Regions from separate parts of the Homo sapiens genome. Here all the other regions are linked to region 2. Evidence: promoter capture Hi-C in 16 types of primary human blood cells and fetal thymus (Javierre and others, 2016). All regions are on one chromosome and are shown on one strand. The core of a region is centred on a gene start or on the middle of the fragment in contact, and the rest is flanking DNA. Distances in the headings are between cores, read along the strand shown.

Region 1 (5,551 bases), core at 1,589-4,088, 190 kb after region 2:
TAGAGACAACTGTGCCACACTGTAATTCCCTGCATAGAACGCTGGCAGCTTCCAGAGAGAAGTCCGAATCACAGATGGAGCCCCACGTGTCACCATGCTTCACTTCAACACGTCCAGAACAGGGAATGTCCCCTCCAACCAGTCTGGGTTCCCTGTGGGCTGAAAAATAAATATTATTTCAGTGAGAGGTAATATGATTTCCAGATTTCCATTCATGATGAGGGTGAAGAAGGTGGTGTGGAGTGGGAAATGGAGACCAGGGTGCTCAGTGATTTCCTACACTTGTTTGTCTTGGCTTTTCTGCCTCGAGTTGGGTATGGATAAATCTAGACCTCCCCATTCCTAGCTGAACTCATCCATCTGAGAGAATTCTGGGACTTCACCTTGTGCAGCCAACCATCCCCAAAGGCAATGATAACTCTGTTCTTCCAAAATTTTGCTTACTTTATTCATAATAACATTAGAGACCACAAACAATGTGTATCTACTATCGCTATCTCTTAGTCTTGCACTCATTCCTCCATGTACTGCAATCTGGGGTCTGCTCAACCTTTTTGAATTGTTCTATGTAAAGCTTTTCAATATACTTCTAATTTTCAGAATGAACATCAGACTTCTTCCTTTTGACGTCTGTTACGTTTGGTATACGTGACCCTTCTTGTCCCATTTTCTCCTCCATTCTTTCTGACAGTGCTTTATCAAAACATTTCGTGTATTCCTTGAGTCAAAGTTCTGTCCGTAACCTTCTCATCTGCTCAATGGACATGTCTCAACTGCTAATAAATATATTTTCATCCATACTTTTTTCTTTAATTTTAGATCCACAAACGTATCTGCTTAGACATGTGGAGCTTAAAGTATTCAAAGTTGAATGAATTATTGTATGACAAGCCCACTATATTCTTTACTTAATTAATGATATACAGGCCAAATTAGAACCACCTAAAATTGACCCACTTTATCTCACCACAAATAATGGTAATAATGATAGCAGTGAATATTAAGTGAGCGTCTATTATATTACATATATGGCATTCCAATAAGCATTTAACAAACATTATTTCATTCAATCCTTAAAATTGCCTTAGGAGATAATTGTTAATATCATTCTGATTTTACAGACAGGGAATCTGAAACATAGAGAGGTGAGGTGTAGTAATTTGCTAAGGTCACACAAGAAATTACTACAGAATTAGTAAGAGAACAGAATTTGAAGCCAGACAGTATATTCCAGAGCCTAGAATGTTGACTTTCATGATACATTGAACATGTAGAAAACCACCATATCTGTTGGTCCTCCAGCATATTTCTTCTTCTGCATATTTGTTGCTATTGCCATAAAGTGATTTGTCATCATCTGTCATGCAGACCTCTACAATAGCTTCGTAAATTGTTTCCTTGCTTCAAAGTCTTTTTTCCAAGAAATTTATGCCATGATTATAAATATATTAATAAATTTCAAATATTTTCATGTGATGTTTTTCCTTTAGATGACTTAACGTTTCCTTAAAATGTATGCAATGATCCCTTACATAATTTCTTATAATTTCTGTAATAATCATGTATGCAATAATTAATCCAAAAGTATCAATGTAATGACCTATAATGTAACAACCTGTAATGTTCTCTGACTCTATTTTAGGCATTTGATGATGGGTGGGTTAAAAAGGCCGCCACAGAATTCAGTCTGTCAGTGAAGATAGATAATACTAAAAATAATAATCATAATCATATTAGCTAACATGTATTTATAGCTCACTGTGTAATTCCTGTGAGGTAGGCCCTATTACCACTCCCATTTTTCTTCTGAGCAAACTGCAGCACAAACAGTTTTCATAGATTCCCTAATTTCGTCCAGCTATTAAAATTAAGGAGAGGTGATAAACACTAATTCTTTAGTACACTTTAAAATAGTATGCTGTTACCTTAAAAGCTTTAATATCTATTACTTTATCAACCTAATTTGATGCTCCAGCCTAAAGATGCTTGGGCATGCCGTAATTTTCATGCTTCTGTGCCTCTGTAGAAACTTTTCTCTCTACTTAAAATTTATTTCCCTACCTTATATACCTAGGAAAAGGCTACTTCTTTTCAAGGCTGTTCAATTTCTCACTAATAGCCTTCTCCTCCATGAACACAGTTCACTACAAGATATACATATTTTAATAGTGATGAACCCAAAAATAGAAATATGTATTAGACATAAAACTAACAAATAAAGGAGTCATTCACTCTGTTTTAGACTATGGGGGAGAGAATAACATAGATCTAAACTGGATCTTGAAAAAAGATGAGGAGTTTGCCAAATACACAGTGTGTGAAACAATCTTTAAGGAATATGGTCACGAAATGCATGGTGTCATTGAAGAATTATAAGTAACTTACTGTAGCTGAAATTTAAAATATAAAGAAAAGACACACCAGAAATAATAAATGGAATTTATATTATGAAGATGCTCTTTGTCAAGTTAAGAAACACAATCATCAAGATAAGTGAGTTTCTTTGAAAATACTCAGAGGCAATATAAAGTACTTAAGAGATACAAACTATTTCTTTTAACTTGTTCTTTAAGAGAAATAAAGAAAATGCAGTTGAAAATTAGACCTTCTGAAGGTCTTAAGTCCTTTATAGATACCTGCTATCAAATATCAACAATTTTTGTAATCTCTTGATGTTACTATCACAATGATATAGATACACCATCAGCCCTTGCCAATCTACATACTCTGATTTCCTTTCATCTCTCATAAACCTTTCACCTGATACAAAAATGTCTTAGAAAATGTTTCGAATATGACCATGTTCTGTACTACAGCAATATAGAATACCTCAACATGTCAAAATTTCACCCATTATCCATTAAATCTGCGCAAAGCAAATTCCTATCCAAATTTGAAATGAAAAACATGTTGCTTTCTAAACATAGCTCAGAGTTTAAAGCAAATAACACCTCTACAATACAAATAATTAATGACCCTTGAGTGGGATGGTCTTTCATTTCTTCTTTTTGAATCTTTATTCAAGCATGAAATTTCTCTAAGATATCATTAACTAGTATTCATATGATCCCAACCTCTTTTGGACAGCCCTAAATCTTTAAGTAAAGGCAGTCTCCTAGATCAAGCCAAATTCTGGTTTCTTGTAACTTCTTACTCTTTCATTTGGACCCATCTTGAACAAAATAAACCAAAAGAAAACCAGTGAAAAACAAACAAACAAACAAACAAAAATATTTTCTTTTCCATTGTGAAAACTCATTAAGCAATTGAGAAAAAGTCCCTTCTATAAGTATCCTCTTGTTTTCTTTGTACTAACATATTTGAGTCAAGGCAGAGGACAAATTCTCCAACTCAGAAAGTGACTTGGAGACTCCATCCTCAGCCTTTATTTCGTGAATCTGCTAGTAACATGTTAATCTATCCTATGGGTCGCTTTGCTTATATCGTTACTCTTTAGACATGGATAGAATATTGGAAATGTATCCCTTTAATGGATTTTTTTCTGCTAAGTCTCTGACTGTGTTTTTACATAAAAACCATTAAGTAAATTTTTGCACCTGGATTTAGCACCATTGATCAACAACTACAGTTTTCCCCTGGCATAAGTAACTGAATCTGTTTTTCTTTCTTTTTCTAGAAAAATAAATAGATCTACAAAGAGCTTTAACATAATTAGAGACATAATTAACTAGAATTACTTCCTTTTGTTTAGTGATAAATAAAATATACAATTATGATTTAAAGAAGCTTTAATGTATTTTCAACATTTAATGCTTTTCAGACTCTGAAGAAGTATAGATCATCATAATCTCAGAATTATTTCTCCATCCTAAGTTAAAAGACAGCATAGCTCAAATGAACTGTTTCTTAAGGTCAGATGTCCTCTACAGTACATACACAGACATCACAAACAAAATGTCTGAGATTCAAAGTAATTTTGTGGCCAAAATTTCCTAGACCTTTTTCTGTCAACAATTTATCTTAAATTGTTTCCAATTCTCCTGCTTAGTTGAATTCTCCTGGTTCTTTTAAGCTGTATAGCCCTGTACTATATAAAAGTTAAACAATTTAAACAGATGATCAAATTCGTAGCTTGAATTTGGCAGGCACAGAGACAGCATATCATCATTGACAGAGACAGTATGTCATCATTGAAAGTATCAAGTAAATAAAGAAACAAAAGTACAAACTATATTACTAACAAAACATGTAAAAAGCTAAAAACCAAGGCCCCCAACATAAGTAGAAGAACTTCCAAAACCTACAGCAATATAACAAAAGAGTTTGTAAAAGGAAACAAAAAGTGCACATGGCAAATAGCAAACAAAAATACAGCTCTGTGAAGTACGGAGCCCACCTTAAGTTGCAAATTTATGTTATTCATGATTTCTATTATACACATCTGAATAGAATCCTGAATAATTTAGAACATGTTACCATAAGTAAGGTATTCTAGTAATGCAACCTAAAATATGGGTGTGGTTGAATGGAGTTGATGGGCAGAATGCATTAATGACTCAGGTGTGAGAGGCTAAAAACCTAAGGAGTCTTACACATGGTAAAATATTTGGGTAAGCCTCACTTTGAAAAGAAAACCGTGTGCTCACTGATGCTTAAAAAATGCAGAATTTATTGGGCAAAGTACAAGAAACAAAACTACAAAAAATCAGAATATTTGCATGACGTGGATTCTCCTTGCCACTTTTAGCATTTACAAGAAAGATGAATTCAGACTACAAGCAGTCAGAATGCAAGCAGAAATGGGAGGAGAAATATCAATTTTATAAGGGGGTATGGTCTGCCTGCAGGTGTTGTATATTGTTAATCAAGAGTCCTATAATTTGGAATTGAAGAATTGAAGAAAAAACTCTAAGTATCCTGTCCCCCCAAATTGAGGTGGTGGTAAAACTGTAGCCTTGTCAGAAGATAAAATTGATACTCCAGATACAAAGGCAATGAGTCTACCGGCAAAGACGGAATTTAGGTCTTGTCCTTCCTCCCAAACCCACAGTTTCAAACGGCCTTAAGGCAGTGGTCAATAATTAAAGAGAAGGGCTGGTCACAGCATAGATCAAAGTATATTTATATGCTCTTGGACTATAGTTACTTTCAGATGGCATTGGGTTATAAAGCAAGTAGACTAGAAGCTTAGTAACCTTGGAAAGAACTTTTTTGTTGAATTTGAGGGCAGCTGACATCAGCCCTTGATTAGTCAATCTTTAATCCAAAGGTCCCTAAACCAATATTAGCAGAAAGTGGGTTGTGAAAGGTGTGCTGTCCTTAGATAGAGATACTCTCCAAACCAAACTTGGATGTAACTGTGAAGAATAATGTGCCAGGAAGAACTGCCCTGAGAGCAACACTGGGGCCCATGAAGGACAGCGGACAGAAGACACCTTCTCAGAGGCCAGCACTTCGTCTACCAGATTGGCTTTCCAAGGAACTCACTGAGCTGCGGGGTGGCTTATCCTTCCTGTCCGGTAGGATTTGATACTTACTGCAGCAAATCTATTCTGGATGTTTCTTGGTGACAACAGAGACACCAAAACAG
Region 2 (5,539 bases), core at 2,121-4,620:
TAAAATAGTCAGTGATTGTCAGATTTGACCCTGGAATCATGAGCTTTCCACAAAACCCTACATCAGGAAATGGTTCTGTTCAATGCAAAATGGCAGCTTTTCAGAGTTTTGTGATCTCCTTAAAGATCTATTCACACCAAATCCAATCTGGAAATCAAAAGCAGATCAAAGAGATAAAAAAGAAGTAATGTTGGCAAACAGATTTTAAAGTTTAATTGAAAAATTATACTTTATAATATCTTAATTTATATTTTGTTGGCAAAAAGATCTTAAAGTTTAATTGAAAAATTCTACTTTATAATATCTGAATTTATATTTTATTACTAACTAATCATTAGGTTTGCATATGCAATATCTTTCACTCTGTTTATATATACAACACAGGAAATGCTGAAATGTATATTCAGATCTGATCTGTTTACATTTAGTTTTAGATTTGTTGGTATGTTAATTGGGTGTTTTATTATGATTTAGAAAATTTGTCCATGGAAGCAAGGAATAAAAGAGCAATTCATAAAAAATCATTTTTCAATTCAGAGGGGATGGAGAGGAGATTTGCATTAAAAACTATCCACTATATTCTCTGCACTATTTTTCTTAGGAAGCAAGAATGTTCCAGGTTCCCCCATCTTGGAAGTTTTTCCACTTCATCATTAAACTGAGACCAAGAAAGGACAAGATAATGGAAGTGAAAGCTAAACTGCTTCAGACTGATGGAGGCTCAGGTCAGCCCCAAGAGCTTGGAGCACAGTGACAGGACATTATAAGAGGCAGAAACAAGATAACTTAGCAGCTCCAATCCAATAGCTTTTCTTTGCTGTTGTTGTTTGAGACGGAGTCTCACTCTGTCACCCCGGCTGGGGTGCACTGGTGCAATCTTGTTTCACTGCAACCTCTGCCTCCCACGTTCAAGCGAAGTCTCCTGCCTCAGCTTTCTGAGTAGCTGGGATTACAGGAACGCAGCACCACGCCCAGCTAATTTTTGTACTTTTAGTAGAAATGGGGTTTCACCATGTTGGCCAGGCTGGTCTCGAACTCCTGACCTCAAGTGATCTGGCCACCTCGGCCTCCCAAAATGCTGGGATTATAGGTGTGAGCCACTACATCTGGCCTTCCAAACCAACAGCTTTTCTAGGTTTCTTTATATATCAAGAGCTGAAGTCTTCTGTCACAAATGCTTCTGAGGTTTTATTTTTAATATGCAGCATTTATTCATTCCTAGCCACAAACCATGCACTGTGCTAACGTACTCACTAAAACCTTGCAACTACCTAGTGAAGAAGGTATTATTACTCTCATTGCACAGATGCAAATGAGACTTGGAGATGTTAAGCAACTTGACAAAGGTCATCCAGAGAAGCAAGTTTGGATGCAAGTGTGGTGCAAGTGGTATGTGTGTGTGTGTGCATGTGTGTGTGCACGTCTGTGTTTTAGGAGAGGGATGAGAGTCTCACTTTTGGCAGAATGCTAAACCATGAATGTGGTCCACTCTGCTTCTCTTTTCTCCCTTTTCTTTACTCTTGATAATTGCCCAGTTAAGGCGCTATCCCTCTTCTTTTTTTACCTTGGCATAACAGAGAGTTTAACACCAACGGTATTGCCAGCAATAGCTATTTTTGAAATACAGCAAATTGTGTTTGCACCAAATGGACCTGCCACTTATCCAGAAGTCACTCTGAGCAGCACAGAGGACTTGGCAACAACAATGAAGGATGGCACACCCTGCACCCTCCTTTCTATTGTTTGTTATCACCATGCTGCAGACTCAGGTACTCTTTACATTTGCAGATTCTTCCACTCCATTCAAAACAACTACACAAGCCTGAAGGGCAAAAAGGGTGAAGGCATTCACCATCAACAAGAAACCTTTATCGAAGAAGGCAGCACAAGGGAGAATAAATAGCAGAGAAGCTGAGTAGGTTAAGTTCTGAAGTCAGACCAGAGAGGTTCAAACCTTGCCTCTGGTTGCGTCATTGAGCTCATGGTGGCAGAGGCAAGACATGGTTTGTCTCGAGCTGAATGACCTTGGATAAGATCCTTAAGTGTACTTAAACCTCAGTGTCTTCATCTGTAAGATAGAGATAATAATAGCACCAACCTCACAAGCTTGTCATGAATATTGAATGACATCAGAAATGCAAAGTGCCTGCCTACATCAAGAACCTAAAAACTGCCTTTTATTATTGCAGATCTTCTGTGAGTCATGCTTAGTGCTAAGAACACATTACATAGCCTCAACCCATACCGGCTGGGTAGGGAGACAGGGCACATATATGAAAAACTATCATTGATAATACAAAGTAGACAACTGTCACATGAATAGCATAAATGCATGTTACGGAAAACCCAGGGAAGAAATAAACACAAAATTATTTAAAAAATTAATTAGATTACAGATGGTAGTCCAGAAAGAGCAGGCAATTTTACCAATATTAAAAGCAGTTTTTGAAAAAGAAATAAAATCCAAGTCTTCTGGTTCATATGGTAGGATTTTTTAAAATAAAACTATGCCACAATAATATTAAGGAAAATAATCTTAACAACAGCAGTGGTTGCCTGGGTGCAGTGGCTCATACCTACAATCCCAGCACTTTGGGAGGCCAAGGCAGGAAGATTACTTGAGGCTAGGAGTTGGAGGCAAGCCAGCCTGGGTGACATAGTGAGGCCATATCTCTACAAAAAAAAAAAAAAAAAAATTAGCAAGGCATGGTGGTGTGGCCCCTGTAGTCCTAGATGCTCAGGATGCTTAGTCAGGGGGATTGCTTAAGCCTAGGAGTTTGAGGCTTCAGTAAGCTGTGATTGCGCCAACCTGGGTGAAAGAGCAAGACCTTGTTTCTTAATAAACAACAAACAAACAGAAAAACAAAAAAACAACAGTAGTAATTAACACTTTGAAGTCACCTTTTACGAGCTAGGCATTTTATACACATTATCTTATTAAATCCTCACAATAACTGTAGGAGGGAGGTACTATATTTTCCCCTATTTTACAGATGAGAAAATTGAGGTGCAGGAAGATAAGTAACTTGTCCAAAGTCCTACAGCCGGAAAGTGGCTGAACCAGGACTTAAACCCAGGTTTCCAAGCAATCACAATGGGAAGTTGAAGGGGAGAGGAGAACAGGGTAAGCAGGAGCCAGGGAAATGACAGGCCAACTCTTAGTGGGGCATTCATGGCAAGTTAACGGGCCTCCTTTACTGGAAGAGGAAATTCAAGTAGAGGAGTTAGCAGACACAGAACAGTGTATAAAGCAGGCGAAAGGAGGCTCTGAATGCCAGTCCAGACAGCGAAGTTTCTATTTGTCTGTTGTTTGGTTGGGGAGAAGACAGGAACAGAAGACAGGAGTCTGACAATTCTGTAGTTAAGGGGTTTTTTTAGACTCATCTGGTCACAGACAGAATGAAGAGGAAGGGTCCAGTGGCAGGGAGACCAGTCAGTGGCTAAGGCAGCAGCTCTGAGGAAGGATGAGGTGTTTTTCAGGTGTTCCCCAACTTGCCAGGGACACACAGCCACAAATCCACCTCCCAGTCTCACCACAGAGCATCAAGAAACTGATACTCTCTATCCATCTCTCCCTACAGGCTGTAGTACTTCTGTGTCCATAGCAGTAGACAAAGTCCTTTGGGAACCATGAAGATTTTTTTCCGCTACCAGACATTTAGATTCATCTGGCTCACCAAGCCACCTGGCCGGCGCTTACACAAAGATCACCAGCTTTGGACGCCTCTGACTCTTGCTGACTTTGAAGCCATAAATCGCTGTAACAGGCCATTGCCTAAAAACTTTAACTTTGCTGCAGATGTGCTGGACCAGTGGTCCCAAAAGGAGAAGGTATATGACGATGGGCTTCCAGTAGATGCTTGGTGTCCCCTTATCTCTCAGTCTTCCATTTCCTTGTTCTGTGGTCTACCACTTAATTCCAATGCACTCTCTCACCCTCTTGGTTTCCTTTGTTTGTTTTCCAATTGCCCTCCCCTCTCCCCAGGGAAGATCTTAGATCCTCAGCCACAAATGGCTGGGCGGCTCTGGAGCCTTCTCTATCTCCCATCCCCATGGTCGTTCCTCACAGAGTTCTGCCTCTTTTCCTTCTCTTTTCTCCAAGCCCCATGCAACAGTGCTTTGTTTTCAAGTTGGTCACAGGCTTATCGAAAAAGTAGCAAATTGAGTTTTGATTTTATGAATACAGTTATCATTGGAGTAATGAGGAGAGAATTGGAGGTTGACAAGAATAAAGCAAGCGGCCCTTATGCAATGTTTACAGTGCAGCCTCAGGATGAGGTCTCTGTGTACTGATCCTCACCCCATGCCAGGCACTGAGCTAAACACTTAACCAAGCAGTGCTTATCAAAATGCACTGCAGGACCATGGATGGGAACATGATGTTAGGTACTAGACAGACAAGGTATTAAATAACATTGAATCAATTCTTCCTGTTAAATACAGGGGGAAAGCCTTCCTTGAAAGCCATTGTGTCTTTAGCACCTATCATTTGCTAAACACTCTCTTGAATAAAGACCACAGGTAGAAGCTAATCATCTCTAGATAAAATTTAATGGCATAGTTTTGTTTTCAGCATATTTATTTTTCAATAACCTATTTTTTGGCAAGTGGTAATAATTGTCCAATAATGGTGCTGATTAAATATATATTCCTTCTTAAGTAAATGTATACACGTAAAAAGTAAAAAGTGAGTCCATGTAGCGAAGTATACAAAATAAAGAAGAATAGTGCAGGTGCAGGCAGAGCTGACAGAAACAATGAGACTTAAATGACTAAAGATTGAGAAATACTGACCTATATTATTTCACCAAATCCCCATAACAACCTGGGAGGTTTGCAGATGAGGAACTTGACCTCATAGAAGCTAAGCTACTTATCCAAGGCCACACAGGTCCAACAGAACATAAACCCAGTCCCTGATCTTTACAGAGGTTACATCCACAGGGAAGAGACACATCTGTCATATAATAAATTGGAGTCATCTGGAGTATGAGCACAACGATGAAGGAACACAGAGAAGTTAGTGGAGAAACAAAGAGAAGTCTAAGAAAAGCTCACAGACGAACTGACATGTCAACAGGGCTTTAAAGTATTTGCCAGCCAGAGAAGATAAAAGAAGCATTCCAGATAGGGGAAAGAAGGGAGAGTAATTTTTTTCCAGGTAATACATAAGGCAAAGAGGTTTTGCAGTACAGATGACTCACTTTATAGAATGATGGGGAAGAAGTTACCTCTAGAAGTCAATAAATTGATGCCTCCCTCGACCCTGCTCCTTGTGACTTGTGAAAACCACACCTCAGCCTTAGGGTACAAAGAGATGTCTGCTTCCCAGTCAAACTTAGCAGATCCATTCAGGTTATTTGGATGGGAAAGAATCTAATTTAAGCAAGAAAGAAATTTATTCAAGGAATATGGGAGAGCTCACAAAATTGGGCTGGAAGCTGGAGAGTCCATCTCAATGAGGACAGGAATCAGGACAGCTCTCTGAGCATGCGTAAGCACGAATAACCCATAGACAAGTTTTGTACCAACCATTTTC
Region 3 (5,380 bases), core at 376-2,875, 150 kb after region 2:
GGAAAAAAACAAACAAGAATATTTTACCCAGAAAATCTGTCTTTTGAAAATGAAAAAGAGGTAGACTTTTCCAGAAAATGAAAAGCTAAGGGAGCTCATGACCACTATACTTGTCTTAAAAAAATACTAATGGAAGTTCTTCAAGCTGAAAAAAAGGGAAGCTAATTAGCAACATGAAGACATGAAGGTGTAAAACTTACTAATAAAAAGTAAGTACATAGTCAAATTCAGAATACTCTAACAATGATGAAATTTTTATGTCTTTTATATCTTTAGTACGTAATTTTTTTTTTTTTTTTTTTTTTTTTGAGACGGAGTCTTGCTCTTTCACCCAGGCTGGAGTGCAGTGGCTCTATCTCGGCTCACTGCAAGCTCCACCTCCCGGGTTCATGCAATTCTCCTGCCTCAGCCTCCTGAGTAGCTGGGACTACAGGCGCCCGCCACCGCGCCTGGCTAATTTTTTGTATTTTTAGTAGAGACGGGGTTTCACCGTGTTAGCCAGGATGGTCTCGATCTCCTGACCTCGTGATCCGCCCACCTCGGCCTCCCAAAGTGCTGGGATTACAGGCGTGAGCCACTGCGCCCTGCCGTAAATTTTTTATATCTTTATTTAGTAAGATAGTTGAAAGACAAAATGAATAAAATAATAATAGCTCCAATAATTTGTTAAGAGGTACACAATGTAAAAAGATGTAAATTATGACATCAAAAACATAAAATGCATTGAGCAGCAGAAAATCTTGTTTTTTATGCAATCAAAGTTACATTGTTGTCAGCTTAAAAATATCCTATTATAACTATTAGGTATTTTATATACGCCTCATGGTAATTACAAAGCAAAATCCCATAGTAGATACCCCCCAAAAAAAAGTAACAAATCAGAACCAATGCAGTGGTACATGACTGTAGTTCCAGTTACTTGGGAGGCCAAGGCAGGAGGGTCACTTGAGTCTAGAAGCTTGAGGCTATAGTGTACTATAATCACGCCTGTAAATAGCTACTGCATTCCAGCCTGGGCAACATAGTGAGACCCCCTGTCTATTTTTAAAAAGAGTAAATCAAAGCATAATGACAAACGAAGACAGCAAGCAAGAAAGTAACAAAAGATCTACAAAACAACCAGCAAATAATTAACAAAATGGCAGTAGTAAGACCTTACTTATTAATAATTACTTTGAATGTAAATGGATTAAATTCTGTAATCAAAAGACAGGCTGAATAGATTAAAAAACAGGACTCAGCTATACACTGACTATGAGCAACTCACTTTAAAATTAAGGACACACATAGGATGAGAGTGAAATGCTGGGAAAAGTTAATCCATGCAAATGGAAACTAAAACAGGGCAGAGGTAGCTATACCTATATCAGACAAAATAAACTTTAAATTAAAAAGTGTAAAAGGGGCAGGCGCGGTGGCTCATGCCCATAATCCTAACACTCTGGGAGGCTGAGGCGGGTGGATCACCTCAGGTCAGGAGTTTGAGGCCAGCCTGGTCAACATGGCGAAATTCCGTCTCTACTAAAAATACAAAAATTAGCCAGGCGCAGTGGTGGGCACTTGTAATTCCAGCTACTAGGGAGGCTGAGGCAGGAGAATCGCTTGAACCCAGGAGGCAGAAGTTGCAGTGAGTGGAGATTGTGCCACTGCACTCCAGCCTGGGCGACAGAGCCAGACTCTGGCTCAAAAAAAAAAAAAAAAAAGGAAAAGGAGAAAGAAACTTTAAAAGGAAGAAAAAAAAGAAGGTCATTATATAATGCTAAAGGGGTCAATTCATCAAGAGGATATAACAATTGTAAATCTATATGCATCTGACATAGGAGAACCTAAACATATAAAGTAAATATTAATAGATCTGAAGGGAGAGATAGAATATAATACAGTAAATATTAGGGGACTTAAATATTCAACTTTCAGCAGTTGTCAAATTATTCAAACAGAAAATCAATAAGGGAACATCAGATTAAACTACACTTAATAGACATATACAAAGCATTCTATCCAACAGCAGCAGAATAAATATTTTTATCAAGCACACATGGAACATTCTCCAGTATTGATCACATGTTAGGTCACAAAACAAGTCTAAACAAATTTAGCAAGACTAAAATTACATCAAGTCTCTTTTCCAAACATAATACTATTAAATAGAAATCAGTAACAAAAACATTGAAAAAATTCACAAATATATGGAAATTAATCGAATGTTTCTGAACAACAAATGGGTCAAAGAAGAAATTAAAAGGTAAATCAAAAAGTATTTAGAGACAAATGAAAATGGAAATAACATATCAAAGCTTATAGGATGCAACAAATGTAGTTCTACGAGGGAAGTTTACAGCATTAAACATTTACATAAAAAAAAATCTCCAATAAGCAACCTAATGCTATAACTCAAGGAACTAGAAAAAGAAAAACAAACTAACCCTAAAGCTAAGTACAAAAAGGAAAGAATAAATAACAGAGCAGAAGTAAACCAAACAGACTAGAAAAGCAAAACAAAAGACTGAAAAAATTAAGTTGGTTTTTAAAAAGATAGACAAATTTGACAAACATTTACCTAGACTAAGAAGAAAAGAGAGAACACTCAAATAAATAAAATCAGGTATGAAAAAGGAGACATTACAACTGATGTCCCATAAATACTAAGGACCACAAGAGACTACTATAACCAATTACATACCAAAAAATTGGACAACCTAGAAGAAATGAATGCATTCCTAGATATGTACAACCCAATCAAGGCTGAATCAAGAAAAAATAGAAAAACTGAACAGACTAATAATGAGTAAGAAAATTGAATTAATAATAAAATATCTTCTGTCAATGAAAATTCCAGAACCAGAGGGCTTCATGGTGAAATACTGCCAAACATTTAAAGAAGAAGAAAACTAACACCGCTTCTCTTCAGACTCTTCCAAAAAGTGGAAGTGGAGGAAAATTTTTCAAACCCATTTTACAATGTCAGCCATTACCCTGATGCAAAGCAAAACAAAAAACAAAAAACAAAAAACAAAACCCTATAAGAAAAGAAAATTACAGGCCAATATCTCTGATGAACATAGATGCAAATATCCTCAACAAAATACTAGCAACTGAATACAACACATTAATAGGATCATTCACGATGATTAAATGGGGTTTATCCCTGGGATGCAAGGATGGTTGAACATATCATGTCAACAAATGTGATACATGATAATAACAGAATGAAAGACAAAAACTATATGATCACCTCAATAGATGCAGTAAAATCATTTGACAAACAATATTTTTTCATGAGAAGAACTATTAGTAAATTAGATATTAAAAAATGTACTTCAACACAATAAAGGCCACATATGAAAACCCTACATGTAACATCATCGTGTTTTCAATGGTAAAAAGTTGAAAGTTTTTCCTCTAAGATCAGGAATACAAGGATGTTCACTCTCACCACATTTATTCAAGATAGTTATGGAAGTCTAGCCAGAGCAATGAGACAAGAGAAATAAATAGCATCCAAATAGAAAAAAAGTAAAACTGTTTCTGTTTGCCGATGACATTATCTTACATATAGAACATCCTAAAAAGGGCCAGGCGCAGTGGCTCACGCTGTAATCTCAGCACTTTGGGAAGCCGAGATGGGAGGATTGCTTGAGGCCAGGAGTTCAAAACTAGCCTGGGCAACATGGTGAAACCCTGTCTCAGCTAAAATTACAAAAATTAGCTGGGTGTGGTGGCGCATGCCTGTAATCCCAGCTACTCCAGAGGCTGAGGCATGAGAAATCGCTTGAGCCTGTGAGGCGGAGGTTGCAATGAGCTGAGATCTCACCACTGCACTCCAAGCGGGGCAACAGAGTGAGACTCTATCTCAAAAAAAACAAAAATCCACCAAAAACTATTCAAATTGATAAATTCAGTCAACTTGTAGAGTACAAAATTAGTACACAAAAATCAGTAACATTTCTCAGCACAAGCAACAAACTATTTGAAAAAGAAATCGGCCGGGTGTGGTGGCTCACGCCTGTAATCCCAGCACTTTGGGAGGCTGAGGCGGGCGGATCACGAGGTCAGGAGTTCGAGACTAGCCTGACCAACATGGCGAAACCCCATCTCTACTAAAAATACAAAAATTGGCCGGGCGTAGTGGCGTGTAGCTGTAATCCCAGCTACTCAGGAGGCTGAGGCAAGAGAACTGATTGAACCTGGGAGGCGAGGGTTGCAGTAAGCCAAGATCACGCCACTGCACTCCAGCCTGGGCAACAGAATGAGACTCTGTCTCAAAAAAAAAAAAAAAAGAAAGAAAAAGAAATTAAGAAACCAACCCCATTCACAATGCCATAAACAAAATAATGAAGAGTAACTTTAATCAAGGATGTGAAAAATCGATATATGGAAAACAATAACATTGATGAAAAATTGTAGACAACTTAAATAAATGCAGAGTTATCAAGTGTTCATAGGTTGGAAGAACTAATATCGTTAAAGTATCCATATTACCCAGAGCAATCTTCAGACTCAATGTGATCCCATCAAAATTTCACAGAAATAGAAACAATTCTAAAATTTGAATGGAACCACAAAAGACCTCCAATAGCCAAAGCAATCATGAGCAAAAATAAAAAAGCTAAAGGCATCATAGTACCTAACATCAAAATTGATCACAAAGCTATAGTAATTAAAACAGAGTGGTTCTGGCATAAAAACAGACACGTTGGTCAGAGGAACAGGACAGAGAGCCAAGAAATATGGTCAATTTACTTTTTATAAAGGTGCCAAGAACACACAATGGAGAAAGAATAGTCTCTGTATTAAATAGTTTTGGGGAACCTGGATATCCACAAGAATCATGAAATGTGACCCTTACCTAACACCATATACAAAAATAAACTCAAAATGGATTAAAGACTTTAATGGTTGGAGGTGGAGATATGGCCAAACAGAACCCTCCAGCAATTGTGCCCCTGCAGGAACACTAAATTGAACAAATATCCAAGCAAGAAAGCACATTTATAAGAACAAACAAAACAGAACAAACAGGTGAGAGGTCATGGTACCTGGTTTAAACATAATCACAAGGAAAGAGACACTGAAGAAGGTAGAAAGGACAGTCCTGCGTTGTCTACACTACCCAACCCCAGCCTCAGGCAACACAGCATGGAGGGAAAATCTGTGTGCTTAGGGGAAGAAGAGTGAAGTGAGTGTGAGACTTTGCATTGCAGCTCAGTGCCACCCTCTCACAGTGGAACTCAACACCAGGCAGCATTCTGCCAGTGCCCATTTGGACCAGCACTGGGCCAGAGGGGAATCCTTCATCCCAATGGAAGAAAACTGAGTCCCAGCCAGCTTCACCACTGGCTGACTACAATGGCTGGGACCTCTAATAAATTCAAGTGGC
Region 4 (5,934 bases), core at 3,361-5,860, 130 kb after region 2:
TTATTTAGCTACATAACATAGTCAATTGTACTGATAAAAAAAATTTTTTTAAGTCAATGGAATCTATTTAGTATGAAATATACATTCACTTTCAGTGTTCTTTAGATGGCATGTATTCATATCGTTTGCCCAGTAGATTACTAGTTCCTTGAGGATAAAATATGTAACACATACTTTTTTCTTATTTTTCATAGAATCAGTCATTGTGTCTAGTACACAACAAGAAAAAGCCCTAGAAAAATCACCTCTTTGTCACTTATCACTTATCTCTTTAGTTCCTTTCTCCACTCAGAGTAGTATTCTCCCACTGTAAGCCAGTATTTTGATATGATTTACCAGCTTCTGGACTAAAGCCCCGTTCCTCACTTCTTCATTCTCCCATTCAGCTGTACTGTATCAAACCTAGACTTGACTTCCCTTTGTTCTCTTTTGTTTCTATACCTATAAACCATGCTCATCATTACTACTTGCTTTCAACTGGCTGTAATTTTGGCAAGAATTTGATACTCTATTTTGCACTTTTGGGGACATTTGTGGTTACTTAAACATAGTGAAAATATAAAACTAACTTTTGCTAATTCTGCTGCTGATGTTCCTTTCACAGATCCCAGGTAGCTGGAAGAAATAAATAAATTATGTTTGCAGATTTAAGTAATCCAATCAAACTAGTCTATAGGCATCAATACCAAAGTAAAAATATAAATAACAAATTATTTAATCCGAGTTTCTTCTACAAAAACTGACTTTTAAAAATGTAATTATATATACAATATTGTGTTATGTGCCAAAATTGTTGAACATAATCAGAAGATATGTGTAGCAAAGTTTAATAAACAAGAAAAAACTATGTAAAATAAAGGGTATTATCTCAAATTTGAAATTGTAACTGAATACTTTTATCTTCCTCATTTCGTCATAAAGTTTTTCAAACCATGTAACAATTAAAACATATTTTAGGTTAAATAATAGAATTCTTAGGGGCTATTATGACATTTAAAAATAAAAATAAAATGTCCACCTCAGTAGGCATTACTGGAAATAATCAAAAATGTTTTAAGAATTTCCTTGGATTTGTCTTTATAGAAAATTTGTAAACCACAAAAACATATCCGTCCAGATTCCTCTAAAATCTCCCAAGATTTTATCAATTGCAAAGGCCTCAAGCACTACTGATATGCTGATACTAAATTTATATCTCTAATTCATACATTTCTTCTGAGAATTTCCAGTGGGAATATCCACCTACATATCTTCCAAGTCCCTCAAAAATGTTCCAACACTCTTAGCATCTTTCTTTTAAATGGTACTACTAGCTACAAGGCTGTACCCATAAGAAATTTGGGAAAAATTCTTACCCTTCTTTCTTTCTCACCTCTTTTTTCACTTCTCTTGGTACTATCAAAGCTGCTGTGTAAATATAACTCCAATCCATCCACTTATCTCTATCTTAACTATTTTAGCCCTAGTCAAACCACTATCATGTCTTACCTGACCTCCTTCAGGGTCTTCTTAACTTCTGTCTCTGCATCCAAGCTTGGCTCTCAAAAGCTATTCTTCATTCAGTTAGTCCACATGATATTTTAATAATCAAATTTTATCATGGTAATTATCTGCATAAAACCCTTCAAAGAATACCCTTGCCTATTAAAATAAAGTCTAAAACTCTTGCCATAGCTCCCCAGTCTGAGTACCAGCCCTCAGCTTCATCAACTATCACTCAACCTTCCTCATTAAGTTATAGCTACTCCAGTGTTTTCTCTACCCTTGGAGGCCACCAAGTCCTTTCTTACTTCAGGAGAATTGGGTTTCTCCTTTTGAAATACTGTTTATTGAAAAACTGCTTTTAACACCTCAGATTTCAGTAAAGCCAATTCTAAAGACTTACATTAAGTGAGTCATCCTATTAAATAATCTGATACTAATTTGTATCTTTATTTCAAAACATTTATTGGAGTTTACAAACCTGTAGATGTTTGTAGAAGAAAAAATAGAAGAAATTAGAAGACTTTACAGAAGGTTCTAAGTACTCTTCCTGACTTTGAACTACTCCAAGACTTTAAGTTCTTTCAGATTATTCACTTGTTGTAAGAACTCTGTCAGCCAGTAAGAGACAGATCACTTAGAAATTAAAGAACTTTGTATCTTCCTGAAATTCCAAACATAAAAAAATGATAGGAATTGGATTTTAAGAATAAGAACAAAGATTTATCATATTTTCTATGCCTCTTCCACCTCTCCGAGTTTCTAATAAATTAACCAGTTAAAACATAAACATGTATAGATCACCTAAAATTGCTGAAAACTGTGCTAATTGTTAGGAATACATAAGTTTAAAATAATTCCCATCCCTCTGGTATTAGCATATTTGAGAGAAGGCGGGAAATTAAATAACTAAAATGTTATTAACACATGAAGAATGAGGACAGAGTGCCATCATAGCATATGAATAGGATATGTTTATATTTGGGGAAGGCTTCCCTGAGGAAATGCTCTTTAAGATGATGTTAATGGATAACCAAATTTAGCCAAGAGAAATGAAGGAGGAAGAGTTTTTTTCTACCTAGAGGAACAGAATGTCTCAATGTTCTGAGGTGGGTTGGAAAATATCACGTACATGAAAGAACGCAGCAGAGATCAAGCAGAAAAGAGGAGAGAGTAGCAACATCTCGTAGATAATAAGAAATTTCCTATATTACTATAAAGTCAACTAAACGTGCTGCAAAAAACATCACTTCAGCTGCACTGTGGAAAATGGATTTGAAGGTGTTTGAAATGACTACAGAGAGGTCACTGGGGAGAGGTCGTTGCTTTCCGTAGTGACTTCTTAGAGGTGGTAAGTGATTGTTGCTTGGTTTATACTGATAGTAATGGAAATGGTGAAAAGAAGCCGCATTCTTCAGCCGGGTGCGGTGGCTCACGGCTGTAATCCCTGCACTTTGGGAGGCTGAGGCGGGCAGATCACAAGATCAGGAGATCAAGACCAGCCTGGCCAATATGGTGAAACACCACCTCTATTAAAAATACTGTAGCCGGGCGTGGTTGCGGGTGCCTGCAGTTCCAGATACTCAGGAAGCTGAGGCAGAAGAATAGCTCGAACCCAGGAGGTGGAGGTTGCAGTGAGCCGAGATCATGCCACTACACTCCAGCCTGGGCAACAGCCTGGGTGACAGAATGAGACTCCATCCAAAAAAAAAAGATGAAGAAGGCACATTTTAAAATATTTAAATAGTATAATCATTTCCATCTGGTGATGTAATGAATATAGTGTGCTAACAGAGAAATGAAGGACTTAAAAGTGATCCCCTAGTTGAACAACGAGAACGCATAGACACAGGGCAGGGAACATCACACACCAGGGCCCGTTGGGGGGTGGGGGGCTGGGGGAGGGATAACATTAGGAGAAATACCTATGCATATGACGAGTTGATGGGTGCAGCAAACCAACATGGCACATGTATACCTATGTAACAAACCTGCATGTTGTGCACTTGTACCCTAGAACTTAAAGTATAAAAAAAAAAGTGATCCCTTATTTCTGACTTGAATAATGAAGTGGGTAATAATGCTATTTACTGAGCTTAGGAAGATTAGATGATGAGTAAACAGGTATAAGAAGCTTACTTTTGGAAACATTAAGGTTCGGGTACATTTTGGACCCTTCGTAGCACACGGATATATGTATCTAGAGCTCTTAGGAGGTGTCTGGTGTGGAATTTTAGTTGAAGCTAGGAAAGTAAATTGCCAAAGGAAAGAGGGCAGCGTGAGATTAGGGACTTAGTCCTGATGAAATCTAAGTTTTGGTAGCTGGAAAGAATTAGTAAAGTGGGGAAACTAGACTAAGAATGAGTGACCTCAGAGAAAGAAGGGAAAAATATGATATTGTGTCAAGAAGTTATTTGAAAAAGGTTTTTAGAAAAAAGATTTGATCGGCCTATGGAATACTGCTGAGTGATCAGAAATATTAAAACTCAAAATGTGCTTTAGATTTGTTAGGAAGAGCAGTTTTAGGAAGAGTGTTTAGGAAAACTCCAGAATGGAGCAATTTCAGGGTAACAAAAATGTGTTATAACCAGAGAAAATTCTTCTCCAGAGAATGATTGACCTTTTTCTTTCCATACATACTGTTTCTAAACAAATTGTTCCTTTCTTCTACATGATGTCTTGGGTTCTTACCATAACAAGTTAATGTGACATCCTCATTGTGACTGCAGTCATGATTTCCCCATCCACGATGTCTGCAATTCCAGAGTGCCAACTCATTCCCCTGGCATAAAATGTCATCCAGCCAAATGGGGCGCAATACAGCAGGGCTATTAACAACTCCAGAAGAAATAAAAGAAGATGGACATCCTAGTTGCCTGCACACCACGGCAGCAGTATTCAAGTTCCACCCATCATCACATATAGTTCCCCACCTTTCTTGGAATTTCACCTCCACTCTCCCTGAACAGGAGTTGTTTCCATCCACTAGCCTCAAACCCAGATTGGCTTCACCTACGAGAAAGACAAGCAGACATATGAAAAACTGATTCAACTTTGAGCCTGAAATAAAATCAAAAGGATACGTAGAAGACAGCCCTGTTATGAATGAAGTTACCAAAAATTAAAAAAAAATAACTGAAAATACTTATAGGAGGGGTATGTGAGGCTTTTTTCTAAACACAAATACACAAACAAAAAAAATCCTAGGTGAAAAAATCAATCATTAGCATGATATTCTTTATCATTTTGCTTTAATTTTATACCTCATTTTTCAGAAAATATTTGTTCTGTTAGTGTACCTGGTACATGAAAAAAGGCACTTAAATCAAAGCTAACCCTGCTCCCAAACTTCTTCATTTCTTTCTAAACTCAATTATAGTTATGATAAAGATATTACATTGGTAACTGTAATGCATTCTCTCTCTGTCTCTCTCTTTCTCTCTCCATTTCTTTCTAAACTCAGTTATAGTTATAAAAAGAAAAGCAATTAGACATTACTTTGGAAATAAGGGAAGGGTAGAATATATAAAATATTTCCTACACCTCCCAGAGGGACACTATTAAAGTCATAATAGAAACCCCTACCTTCCAGCAGATGATTCCTGAGGGTAGGTCTTACCTTGCCTTCCTACTCTAGTTAGACTCTTACCATAACAGTTCACACCAACATCTTCTCCATGATAACAGTTATGGCTTCCCCATTCCCGGTGTTGACATTCCCAGAGAGCTGACTCATTTCCATAACAGGAAACATCATCAAGCCAAATTTTTCCATGTCTAGTCACGGCTTGTCCAAAACGAAACATGGCGAAAGAAAATGGACATCCAAGCTGTTTGCACACGACAGTTGAGGCAGTAGTGTTCCACCCATCATCACACACAGTCCCCCACTGTCCCTGGAATTTCACCTCCACTGTCCCAGAGCAGGGACCGTCTCCATTGACCAGCCTCAACTCCAAATCTGTTCCATCTGCAAGAAAGACAGAAACATACATTAGAGATGGCAAAGATTAGAAGGCAGAAATAATATAAGTAGGTGAGATGGATGATGATCATTTAGTTTAAATGTTGTTATTAGAACTTATAGTAGAGAGAAAATAAAAATGAGAAAATTTGAAGTGAGAAGCTTTAATTTTTCATGATAGGGAACTAGAGACCACATTGCAGCATAGTTTTGCTTTGCATTGTAATGTGAAAATTAAAAGAAGGGAAAGAATTTTTTCTTTCTATGCAATTCCCACCAATATAAACCACAGAAAAGGTAAGGTTTGCTGTTGTGCACGCAGAATGAAAGAAAGTCCCTTGGCTAGTCAGTTTCAAAATAATCTGTATCTGAGGAGTCCACCTCACATTTTTGAAGGAGATGTTTTATATACTTAATAATTGAAAACATCTTGTAAGGTTGACATAATAATTTTCTACTCAATAAAATCTACAGCATTAAATACTTTT

Evidence for each region. The method cuts DNA at HindIII sites, captures the fragments that hold promoters and counts their contacts. A CHiCAGO score of 5 or more calls a contact.
Region 1: a fragment that was not itself captured here is called in contact with the fragment with the promoter of ACSM4 in region 2 in 1 of 17 cell types (megakaryocytes); the score reaches 5.3 in megakaryocytes.
Region 3: a fragment that was not itself captured here is called in contact with the fragment with the promoter of ACSM4 in region 2 in 4 of 17 cell types (M1 macrophages, erythroblasts, M2 macrophages and 1 more); the score reaches 7.1 in M1 macrophages.
Region 4: a fragment that was not itself captured here is called in contact with the fragment with the promoter of ACSM4 in region 2 in 1 of 17 cell types (M2 macrophages); the score reaches 5.4 in M2 macrophages.

What each region holds. Positions count from the first base shown.
Region 1 is chr12:7,487,929-7,493,479 of GRCh38, forward strand. It overlaps CD163 (CD163 molecule), which reads right to left. Exons shown (of 17, transcript NM_203416.4): 7 at 1-159. LOC124902870 (a long non-coding RNA gene) reads left to right here and starts at 5,263. Exons shown (of 2, transcript XR_007063197.1): 1 at 5,263-5,480. The HindIII fragment of the contact is 1,814 bases long and covers 1,932-3,745 here.
Region 2 is chr12:7,300,702-7,306,240 of GRCh38, forward strand. ACSM4 (acyl-CoA synthetase medium chain family member 4) reads left to right here and starts at 3,371. Exons shown (of 13, transcript NM_001080454.2): 1 at 3,371-3,831. The coding sequence starts at 3,631. The HindIII fragment of the contact is 4,163 bases long and covers 2,105-5,539 here.
Region 3 is chr12:7,454,705-7,460,084 of GRCh38, forward strand. No RefSeq gene overlaps it. Among named protein-coding and RNA genes, the nearest start is that of CD163L1, 13 kb to the left of the region's middle. The HindIII fragment of the contact is 1,339 bases long and covers 957-2,295 here.
Region 4 is chr12:7,428,243-7,434,176 of GRCh38, forward strand. It overlaps CD163L1 (CD163 molecule like 1), which reads right to left. Exons shown (of 20, transcript NM_174941.6): 3 at 5,132-5,452; 4 at 4,174-4,494. Among named protein-coding and RNA genes, the nearest start is that of CD163L1, 13 kb to the right of the region's middle. The HindIII fragment of the contact is 1,992 bases long and covers 3,615-5,606 here.